3 separate regions of the Homo sapiens genome follow, and all the other regions are linked to region 3. Evidence: promoter capture Hi-C in human tissues and cell types (Jung and others, 2019). All regions are on one chromosome and are shown on one strand. Each heading gives the region's core, a stretch centred on a gene start or on the middle of the fragment in contact. The rest is flanking DNA. Distances are from core to core; before and after follow the strand shown.

Region 1 (3,291 bases), core at 135-2,634, 100 kb after region 3:
AAGTCAGGAGTTCAAGACCAGCCTGGCCAACATGATGAAACCCTGTCTCTACTAAAAATACAAAAATTAGCTGGGGGTGGTGGCATGCACCTGTAGTCTCAACTACTCTACTCAGGAGGCTGAGGTAGGAGAATCACTTGAAACCGGGAGGCGGAGGCTGCAGTGAGCCGAGTTCACGCCACTGCACTCCAGCCTGGGCGACACAGCAAGATTCCACCTCAAAAAAAAAAAAAATTTACACATAAACGGCCGGGCGCAGTGGCTCACACCTGTAATCCCAGCACTTTGGGAGGCCGAGGTGAGTGGATCACGAGGTCAGGAGATCGAGACCATCCTGGCTAACACGGTGAAACTCCGTCTCTACTAAAAATACAAAAAATTCTGTGGGCGTGGTGGTGGGCACCTGTAGTCCCAGCTACTCGGGAGGCTGAGGCAGGAGAATGGCGTGAGCCCAGGAGGCGGAGCTTGCAGCAAGCCGAGATCGCGCCACTGCACTCCAGCCTGGGCGACGGAGTCTCATCTCAAAAAAAAAAAAAAAAACAAACAAACAAATTTACACATAAACTTACTATATAACCCAGCAATTCCACTCCCAAGTACCTACCCAAGAGAAATGAAAACATATGTCCACTCAAAGACTTGTCTATGAATATTCATAGCATTATTCATAATAGCCATAAACTGGAAACAATCTAAAACTCCATCAACTGGTAAATGGATAAACAAAATGTGGTATATCCATTCAATGGAATATTATTCAGCCATAAAAATAAAGTACTGACACATGCTATAGCATGGCTGAACTTTTTTTTTTGAGACAGGGTCTCACTCTGTCACCCAGGCTGGAGTGCAGTGGCAGGATCTCAGCTTACTGCAACCTCCATCTCCCAGGCTGAAGCAATCATCCTACCACAGTCTCTGGAGTAGCTGGGACCACTGGCGCACACCACCATACCTGGCTAATTTTTTGTATTTTTAGTAGAGACAGGGTTTCACCATGATGCCCAGGCTGGTCTCAAACTTCTGGCCTCAAACGATCCACCCACCTCAGCCTCCCACAGTGCTGAGATTACAGGCATTAGCCACCGCATCCAGCCAACATGGCTGAACTCTGAAAACATTAGGCTAAGTGAAAAAAGCCAGACACAAAATCATATTGTATGATTACATCTAGGTGAAAGTTCTAGAAAAGACAAACTACAGAGCCAGAAAGCGGGTCAGGAATTGCCTGTGTGTGGGGGTGGTACAGGAACCAACTACAAATGAACAAGAGAATTTTGGGGGCTAGTGGAAGTGCTCTAAAACTGGATCACAGTGATCGCTGCATAAATGTAGAAATGTATTAAAGCTTACCAACGGTGCACCCACAAAGGGTGAATTCTATGGTATATAAATCATAACTAATAAAGCTGTTTTAGAAAAATTCATGAAACAAACAGGACTTTTTCAAAAAGTTTCAGTCATAAAGGTTTATTTTAAATAAATAAGAAAACATTCTTCATTTCCATTATTCTTTATCTTGTAAACCATCAAAAACAGCTATGATTTTTACACTATGATATACACTTTGCTTCCCCAAATTTTGGTGCCTGCTAACTTGGGTTAAACACAGTCTAAAGTTTGTACTTGGGCAAACTGGATTTATCAACTTTTTCTAAAAAGAATAATGCATCTCACCATAAGGCTCACACCAGACTGGAAAAGCTCATATGGGTAGAGAATTCTTTCATAATGTGACTTCAAAAGAGACCCAGTTCCTTTTCCTGGCAGATATCCCAAGCGACTACCCACTTTAGACCATTTCTTCTCTTTGGTGACCATTTCAAAACCTCCTTTGCTGGCAACAATCTGAAAAGAAAGTAAAAGTTGCTTAGAGAAAAAAGGCAAATTCAAGCATCTTGACTCTTAAGTCTTGTCTACTAAATAGAAAAATTATTCAGGGCTTAAATTTCAAATTTCCTTTCAATGAGTATCTAACCAAACTGACACTTGTCAACATTTAGAGTAAGAAATAGAAACAATGCTTTTCAGAGGTTTAAAATGTAATTAACATTATGCCTACCTTCAAACCAAGCATTCAAAAATATTTAATGAATACTCTGTACAGTACGCACTGTGAGAAAACTAAACACATGTACAGACAGACTACCTACTTAAGGAACTCACAATATGAAATAAGAATAAAAACAGATAAAAAATAGATATGAAAATAAATGTTATATAATACAAAATAAACATAAATCCTGAAATTAGAAATAACCAAGTAACTTACAGAACTTAACAAAAACGTCAATCAAACCATGAATACAGAGGACAGTTGTGAAAAACAGGCTATAATTTTTCAAAAGGGCAAGAGTTTTATATGGAAGATCATAAAGGAACACTGAAAAAGATTAGGTTGCAGTAGATTTACCGATACGGAGTACAGAATATATTAAGGTAGAAAACGATGAGATAAATTGGCTAACTTGGCTGAATGGTCACATCAAGCCAGGCACTCTACAGAATACATATTTCAAAGCTCCTTAACGTCCAGGAGCTGTTACTATACATCTCTTAGGCTCTAAAATACAGTCATGCACTGCATAACATTTTGGTCAAATATAGACCGCATATATGACAGTGCTCCCATAAGATTATAATACCATATTCTTACTGAACCTTTGTGTTTAGATACATACACAAATACTTACCATTGTGTTACACTGCCTACAGTATTCAGTAGAGTAACAGGCTGTACACCTTTAGGTCTAGGAGCAACAGGTTATACCACATAGCCTAGGTATGCAGTAGGCCATACCATCTGGGTTTGTATAAGTACATTCTATGTTTGCACAATAATGAAATCCTCATGTTTTTCAGAACATATCCCTGTCATTAAGTGACACGATTGTACAGGCAGTTTTCAATTTCACTGAGAATAAAGGGGACTGTGACACAGTGTTCAAACTCAGTTTCTCCTATTTGATTGAGTATATACTACTGTATCTTACTACATAAAAAAAAAGTTAAAGCCAGGCATAGTGGCTCACATCTGTAATTCTAACACTTTGGGAGGCCAAGGCAGGAGGATCACTTGAGCCCAGGAGTTTCAAACCATGCTGGACAATATAGTGAGGCCCCCATCTCTACAAAAAAATTTAAAAATTAGCTGGGCAGGTTGGGCAGGGTGGCTTATGCCTGTAATCCCAGGACTTTGGGAGGCAGAGCTGGGCAAATAGCCTGAGCTCAGGAGTTCAAGAGCAGCCTGCGCAACATAGTGAAACCCCATCTCTTCTAAAAAAATATACA
Region 2 (3,671 bases), core at 350-2,849, 110 kb before region 3:
CCTCAAACTTCGTGTGCCCCAAGATGGAGACTCCGTCTCTCCTCCAGCGTGTGTCTGCACCATGATACACTCACACTAGAGAATGGTACCTCCAGGCCCCTGGGTTCTCCTGAGATGATTCAGTAGAGGGGAGGCACGGTAGCTATCTGAAAGAACACCTCAGACTTCGTGTGCCCCAAGATGGAGACTCCGTCTCTCCTCCAGCGTGTGTCTGCACCATGATACACTCACACTAGAGAACGGTACCTCCAGGCCCCTGGGTGCTCCAGCCAGAGCTCCAGGATGCACCAGTGATGCCTCCCTTTCCTCACTTCCCACATTCCCTGCACCTCGAGTCCCATCTGTTCTTCCTCTAAGATGCAGCTGGATCATTCATTCAGTTTGTTTCCACTGCTCCTGCCTTAGCCCAAGCCCCATTATCTGTAGCTTGGACCTCTGCAGTAGCATCCTAACTGGGCCCCTGCTTCTGTCTTCTTCCCTGCCCCTCTGCCATTCATTTTCTCTCCAACAGCCAGGGAAATCTTCTTAGAACAAACAGGACCCTGTCGCTCCTCTGATCATACCCTCTATTGTGTCCCAGTGCATTCAGGATAAACTCCCAAATCCTTCTCATGACCCACAAAGCTGACAGACTGAGCCCTGGCTGCTGCCCCACAGTCACCATTCTCCCTGTTACTGTCTGCACTGCAACCTTGCGGACCCTGCCTAGGTCCTTGAAGCTCCTCCCTGCCGTGAGCCTTTGCATATGCTTCCTCCCTTAGCCCACCTGACAGCTCTCCCCTCTCTCCTTCCTTTGGCCACCTCCTACTCATCTTTCAGGCCTCAGCTCAAATGCCATGTCCCCAAAGAGTCCTTTCCAGACATACAATATAAAATATATCTCCTTTGTCCTCTCCTGGAACCGTCGTTTCCCTACATAGAACTCATCATGACTATAGGTAAAGAATTATTTTTGACTCTGTGTTCAATGCCTGTCTCTCCCACCAAGACAGAGACTGTGTTGCTGGCCACTTACACCAGGTCCCGAGCACAGCCTTGCACACGGGGCCACTCAGTGCTCGTTGCTGAAAGAGTCAACCAGCCACTGCCACAGGGCACAAAAAGCACCAGAAAGGGGAAGGCAGGAGGTCAGCGATATGGACCCTGCTGTGGGCTCCAGGTGCCCAGGCCAGCTCTGAACCTGCAGGGTGACCACAGAGCCCCCGTGCTGACTGCCCACGCATGCACCAAGAGGCTCTCCTGTGTAACTGTGTCCACGGGCTTCTCCTTGGCCTCTCACAGGTCCCCACCAAGCCATCTGGGTAAGATCACAGCCCCTAGGAAGACATGCATTAGTGCCAGCCACTGAGCAGCAGAGAGCCAGGGAGAGGTGAGGGAGAGGAGGGCACAGGGGACCACCTGCCCCAGGAGATGTCAGCAAGGAATGAGATGTGTGCAGCACGCCTGTAGGGCTGGCTGTCTAGTGTACTTCAGTCTCATATGTAATAAAAACATAATGGTACAATGGTTCATATTGCACAAGCTTGAGAAGATGAGGTCATTGCACACATAGTGAAGCACTTAGAGCCATACTCAGTACAGAGAGCTCAGAGGGAACTCCCCCGACTTGAGTAAGGGACCTCCCTGCCACCCCACACACACACAGGAGTGAAGAGAAGAGAGCCCAGTGGGGCAGGGAGAGGCCTCACAAGATTAGGAAGCTGAAAGCCTGCTCTCCCTAGCTGTGGGAGCATGGGGCCAGCCCTACGTGGCATTAGTTTTGTCTTCTGTAAAATGGGGAGATGATACACCAGAAAAGACCACCCGGGAATGTGTGGTGCTCTTTACCTTAAAGATGACCAATGAGGAGAGATGACTCCAGGCCACCCTGGGTGGAGGCTGCAGCATGGATTTGGTAAACTGCCCACACTCAGCTCCCCAAGAGGATTCCAGGGCAGCAAAGAAGGCTGGAAAGTGGGAATTAGGAGTGCTGGTAGACACTGCAAAATAAGAGAAGCAGCAGGACAGAGAGTGAGAGAAGGGGAGGGAGCAAAAGAGGGCACGGTGCAAGCAGAAGCTTATGCTCAGGGAGTGAACAGAGGAGGCTCATGCTGTAGAGGGCCGAGGCTTATAGGTGCTTCCAGGGGGACACGGACCCTGGAATGAGCAGGGCTTATGGTAGACAGCACAGTCCCACCCCCAGCCACCTTCCCCAGGATGACACAGGCCCCATCAGGAACGCAAACAGTGATCAGTGATTCCCCCTAGAGGAGGGTGGGGATGAAGCCACCAGCCAGCCAGGAGTGCTGCTGCGGGTCGTCTGCCCCCTGCCGTTGGGAGCGTCTGCAGTGCTTCAGAGATGGCCCGTGCCTCCGGGTGCCAGTCCTGAGAGGTCACCTGGTCCAACCCCCAGCTCTCCAGTGAGGAAGTGCCTTCCTCAGGCAGGAGGGTAGAGTGTCCCACCACTCAGCACAGCTTCCTCCCTTCCAGCTAGGGATTTCACAGCCAGAAAATGTCATTTTTTCCCCCAGGGTCTGAGAAACCCAGAATAGCACCTGTTCATGAAACACAGATACCCTGTGGTGGCAAATGCAGTGAGGGGAGGAAGGCAGGACGGCAGGTGCATAGCCAGGGGAAGAACTACATCTGTTTATGCCTCCATCCACCCCTCCCTCACCACCCCCATGCAAAAGCAGCCCCGATAGCCAGGTGGGGACACATGCCCCTAAGGACGGCTGCCTGGTGGCCTGTGAGTTGCTGGACTCACTTTAAAAGCCGCAGTGAGGCCTACCCTTGCACTCAGCTCAGTCTTTGGTTTCACAATTTAGGAACAACCGGGAGATCTTGCAGAGAATGCTGATTCCCAGGACTTGCCCCCAAATATTCTAATTTGCTGGGTCTGGGGTGGGGTCCAGCGAGCTGCATTTTAACAAACCACCTTATGACTCCGCTGTGGGGTCCTGAGAGCACACACTGGAAGATGTTGGATGAGAGGCCCTTCCAGCTCCACAGCCCAAGTGTCCACCCCTGCAGCCCTCCCCGCTTCGAGGCCCACGAGGGGTGTATTCAACTCCCATTCTGTGGGCCGACTTTTCAACCTGGCTGCTTCCCCCATCCCGGTCCTTGGCTCTCAGGCTCTCAGCTCACTACCGGGGCTTTTAGCAGCAGACTTGAGTGAGTGAACGGCTGCTTGTCACCTGAGTGAAGGGCTGGAAACTAGGCCATCGTGCTTGGCTGGGCAGATGCCACCCTCACCAGCTGCTCCCGCTGCCTCTGCGGCAGCCTGCCCCCACAGTGCCCTGGGCCTCCCAGCACCCCCACCATTGCAGGGTGAGACCTGGTCCATAGCCCTGGGGCAGAAGGCACTCAGAGAGAGGCTCTGGGAGGAACGTGGATGTGGGAAGCCGGGTGCCAGGACCTCAGCGTTCAGAAACAGGGAAGGGGTGGGGTGCACGACAGATGGGGGCAAGTCCTGGGGAGCAGCAGGATGGCACTCAGAGGGACCAAGGGCCGTTCTGGGGCCCTGAGGACCCAGGCCTCTTTCTTGGCCTCATAAGAGTCAGCGCCCCTGGGCTGAGAGGGTGGCATCTGGCCGCTCCATGCCGCCCCCACCACAGTCCGCGGTGCACTTCACATCTTCATCTCTACCAGACTTCTTCTGTCTCTTCCTCTTCCCCTCCTGTCCCTTCCTC
Region 3 (3,443 bases), core at 337-2,836:
TTAATTCTCACAACAACCCTGAGATGTAAGCATTATTACCTCCACTTTATAAATAAGGAAGTTGCAGCTCAGAGAGGTTAAATAATGTGACTGCTGCTGCCATATAGCTACTAACTTGCACAGCCAGGACTTAAACCCACTCTGCCCCTGCTCTTTCAGTTCCATCCCTTTGATTACATTGGCTGCCTAGGTTCACTGGTGTGTCTACTAAAAGCATCTTCTAATGACTCTGCCTTGATTTTGCAGAGTGGCCTCTTTTCTGGAGAAGGAGGCAGATGGACTTTTTTCTAAGCCTCAAGCAAAGTTCATGTTAACAGAACTTTCTCAGCAGTAACCTCTTCTGGCCACAGACTCTACTTTGGCTCTGACCCAGAAAATTAGAAAGTCAGTGAACAGGCCGGGTGCAATGGCTCACGCCTGTAATCCCAGCACTTGGGAGGCCGAGGCGGGTGGATCTCCTGAGGTCAGGAGTTTGAGACCAGCCTGGCCAACATGGTGACACCCCGTCTCTACGAAAAGTACAAAAATTAGCTGGGCATGGTGGCAGGCACCTGTAATCCCAGCTACTCAGGAGGCTGAGGCAGGAGAATCGCTTGAAACCAGGAGGCAGAGGTTGCAGTGAGCCGAGATCGCGCCACTGCACTCCAGTCTGGGCAACAAAGCGAGACTCTGTCTCAAAAAAAAGAAAAAAAAAAAAAGTCAGGGAACAGCAGGCATCTATGTTTATCTGATAAATTAGGGAATGAGCTCCTTTCTACAAAGGAGAAACTCAAGTAACTGGTCCCAAGAGGGCTCCTCAGTCCTTTTGGGAAGGTTGTCTAAGGTACTGACTGTGCTGGCCTCCCCTCCCTTTACCAGCTGATGGATCTCTCCCAGTGATGGAAAGCCTTCCCTTCTCCACCCTCCCAGACCCTAGGAGAAACAGTAGCCTTCTCCTGGCTCCCTTAGCCTCATTAGAGCTGCTTCTCAGAGGTAGCATGTTGTGTCTGAAAGGTCATGAGCTGTAGAGTCAGATGAGGCCAGGTTCAAACATTAGTTTTTTCTCATACCAATGTCTGACTTCAGAGAAGTTAATGAATGACTCTGAGCCTTAGTTTGTTCATCTGTAAAAGTGGGGATGATAGATAGGATATACTTAGCTATAAGAATTAAATGAGGAAATATACATATGTATACACACTTAATAGAATAACAGGTACTCAAATTTTTGTTTTCTTTCAGTCCTGTCAGAGTTGATCATTGTTCTCTTTTCTCAGAGAAGAAAGACTTTGTTTTCTTGGAGTTAAATCCAGTTGTCTTTCCTCTCAATCTAGGGCTCTCTCTTTCCAAATCACAGTGTCACTTAAGTCAACAGCCACCCAAGTTTCAGAAAGTCAAGAAAATAGCACATAATCTTTGCATTTGCACACATACATGTCAGAAGCGTACTTTCTAGGCGAGGGTAAGAAAAAAGTCCTTTGGTTGTAAGTCCCATGGATCCCACCAACCTGCAGTCTGAGACGCAGAAATAGAAAAAAAAGAGAAGAAAACATTTCGAACCTTAGTGAAGCTGCTGCCAGAGGTCCAGTCAGGGGAGAAGAATTATCTAAGGGGGAAGGAGAAGGTGCTGGCTATTTAAAGTGTGGTTCCAGAACGCCTCTGTGGCACTTGAAATTCTAAACTTGGCCCAGCCCACATTCCACCCTTGTGCCTCCCCCTCCCCTTTTCTCCCCTCCCCTCCCCTCGGCCACTGGACAACCCACACATGAGTGATTTCGCAGTCTGGGGAGTGTGCACGCCCTGGCAGGTCGGGCCAGTTGCTGGTGAGCTTATGAAGTGTGGTCTCCTCCCCGGAGCTCATGTGCGCTTCCCACCTGGTGAGCTCAGGGTCTCTCTGGAGGGATCCTGCCTCCCACCCCTGTCTCCAACACAAGTGCTCCTATAAATCCATCAAGAATAGGTATTCCTTTGGTCAGGTGCTGTGTAGATTAATTTAAAAATACATTTATCTTACCGTTTCGCAGCTTGCAATGTGGAATGGACGATGATTTAGAACAAAGATACATAGATACAGAACTCTGAGATGTCAGAAAAACTTCCCAAACATACACAGACATTTATACACATATAGAAAAAGTCTGAAAAAATCTTCGCTAAATGATTAATAGTAGTTACATTTGTAGAGTGGAACTGAGATCAGGAGATGGCAGTAAGGGAGATTTTTTCCCCACTTTTTCAATATTGTTTAGATTTTTTAATATGCTAGAATTTTAAAATATTTTTTAAATCAATAGAGAAAAGGAAGTGCCAACGTTTAAAATAAAGCAAAGCCCTAAAGCTGTTATAAGGGAAGGAGCAGGCGGTGAGCGCGAGGCCGAGGTCATCCAGGGAGCTTCGTTTCTCTGCAGGAACAGCCCACAGAGGCGGCTGTGAGAGTAGTTCATTCAGCCTGGAGTCTAGGACAGGGCAGAGTCCCACCTCAGCCATGTGCTGAAGCACAGTACATGTAGTGGAAACCTGCTCAGACTTTGACACCAGAGAGTGTGGGGTCTGAGTCCTACGTATGCCACTGTCTAGCTTGAGATTTCAGGAGATGATGACTAACTGTAAATGGCAGCTGTTATTCATCCTTAAGGGATTATTCACAGTGAGCAGTGAGCCCGGAAGTCTTCTTGAAGGAGACGGGACTGAGAGACCCCTGAGCTAAGCTGGGCTCTGGCCAGACTGTGAGAATGAGTTAGGTAGGGGATGCGGCAATGAGTGAGTGAGGTGATAGAGACATCTTGAGATGACGGAGAAGTGTGGAAAGAAAGACGGATCGAAGAGTCTAAGGTAGTTTCCGTTTCCTTGATCCCTCATCTAACTCAAGGGCATGGGGTAGGGGCATGGAAACACTGCATGGTAATACCTGGAGAGCTTCCCAGAAGCTTCTTGGAAATTATTATTCTTATGTTTCAGCGGCCCCTGTTCCTCTCCCCTTTCAAGCTTTCATCTGTTAGACTGAGCTCTGTAAAGCAATAAACCAAAAGCGTCCTGAGACAGCCTACAAACTCATGTAAAAAAAAGACCATCTTCAAAGCAGTGCTATTGACTTCCATTTTTACGTATCACTGAGTGGTACTTACTAATGGCCTACTATGCATTATAAACTTTGGCATTTGTAATCTAAAATTACCAGATAACGGGTGTTTTCTCAGATACCATTCAGCCTTTGGCAATGTTGCACAGCCCCTTCTGTGTCCTCACATATGCAAACGGTTGCAATTTCCAGCTTCCAGGAAAGACTGTCAGTGATAAGGACATCATCAGGCTTATCCTGAGTTGGTTGTGAGCTGCTGCTGTTGTATGAAGGAATGTTGGCTTTACTTACCAACTCTTTTGTTTTTACATAACTGCTGCCATGTTACCATGTTGACTCCTATTTTATTCCTCTCCAAATCTTTGTTATCCCCAATTTCTTTTTC

The links. Contacts are between HindIII fragments. The study calls those that stand out against the background at their distance.
Region 1: a fragment that was not itself captured here is called in contact with the fragment with the promoter of SLC6A13 in region 3 in 4 of the 25 tissues and cell types used here (IMR-90 fibroblasts, hippocampus, lymphoblastoid cells and 1 more).
Region 2: a contact is called between a fragment that was not itself captured here and the fragment with the promoter of SLC6A13 in region 3, in 3 of the 25 tissues and cell types used here (IMR-90 fibroblasts, liver and mesendoderm cells).

The regions. Positions count from the first base shown.
Region 1 is chr12:364,257-367,547 of GRCh38, forward strand. It overlaps KDM5A (lysine demethylase 5A), which reads right to left. Exons shown (of 28, transcript NM_001042603.3): 4 at 1,678-1,848. Among named protein-coding and RNA genes, the nearest start is that of KDM5A, 23 kb to the right of the region's middle. The HindIII fragment of the contact is 3,397 bases long and covers 1-3,083 here.
Region 2 is chr12:151,070-154,740 of GRCh38, forward strand. All of the region lies in intron 5 of IQSEC3 (IQ motif and Sec7 domain ArfGEF 3), which reads left to right. Among named protein-coding and RNA genes, the nearest start is that of IQSEC3-AS3, 3.7 kb to the left of the region's middle. RefSeq lists an enhancer at 1,967-2,881. The HindIII fragment of the contact is 4,498 bases long and covers 1-3,671 here.
Region 3 is chr12:261,250-264,692 of GRCh38, forward strand. It overlaps SLC6A13 (solute carrier family 6 member 13), which reads right to left and starts at 1,587. Exons shown (of 15, transcript NM_016615.5): 1 at 1,540-1,587. The HindIII fragment of the contact is 8,106 bases long and covers 1-3,242 here.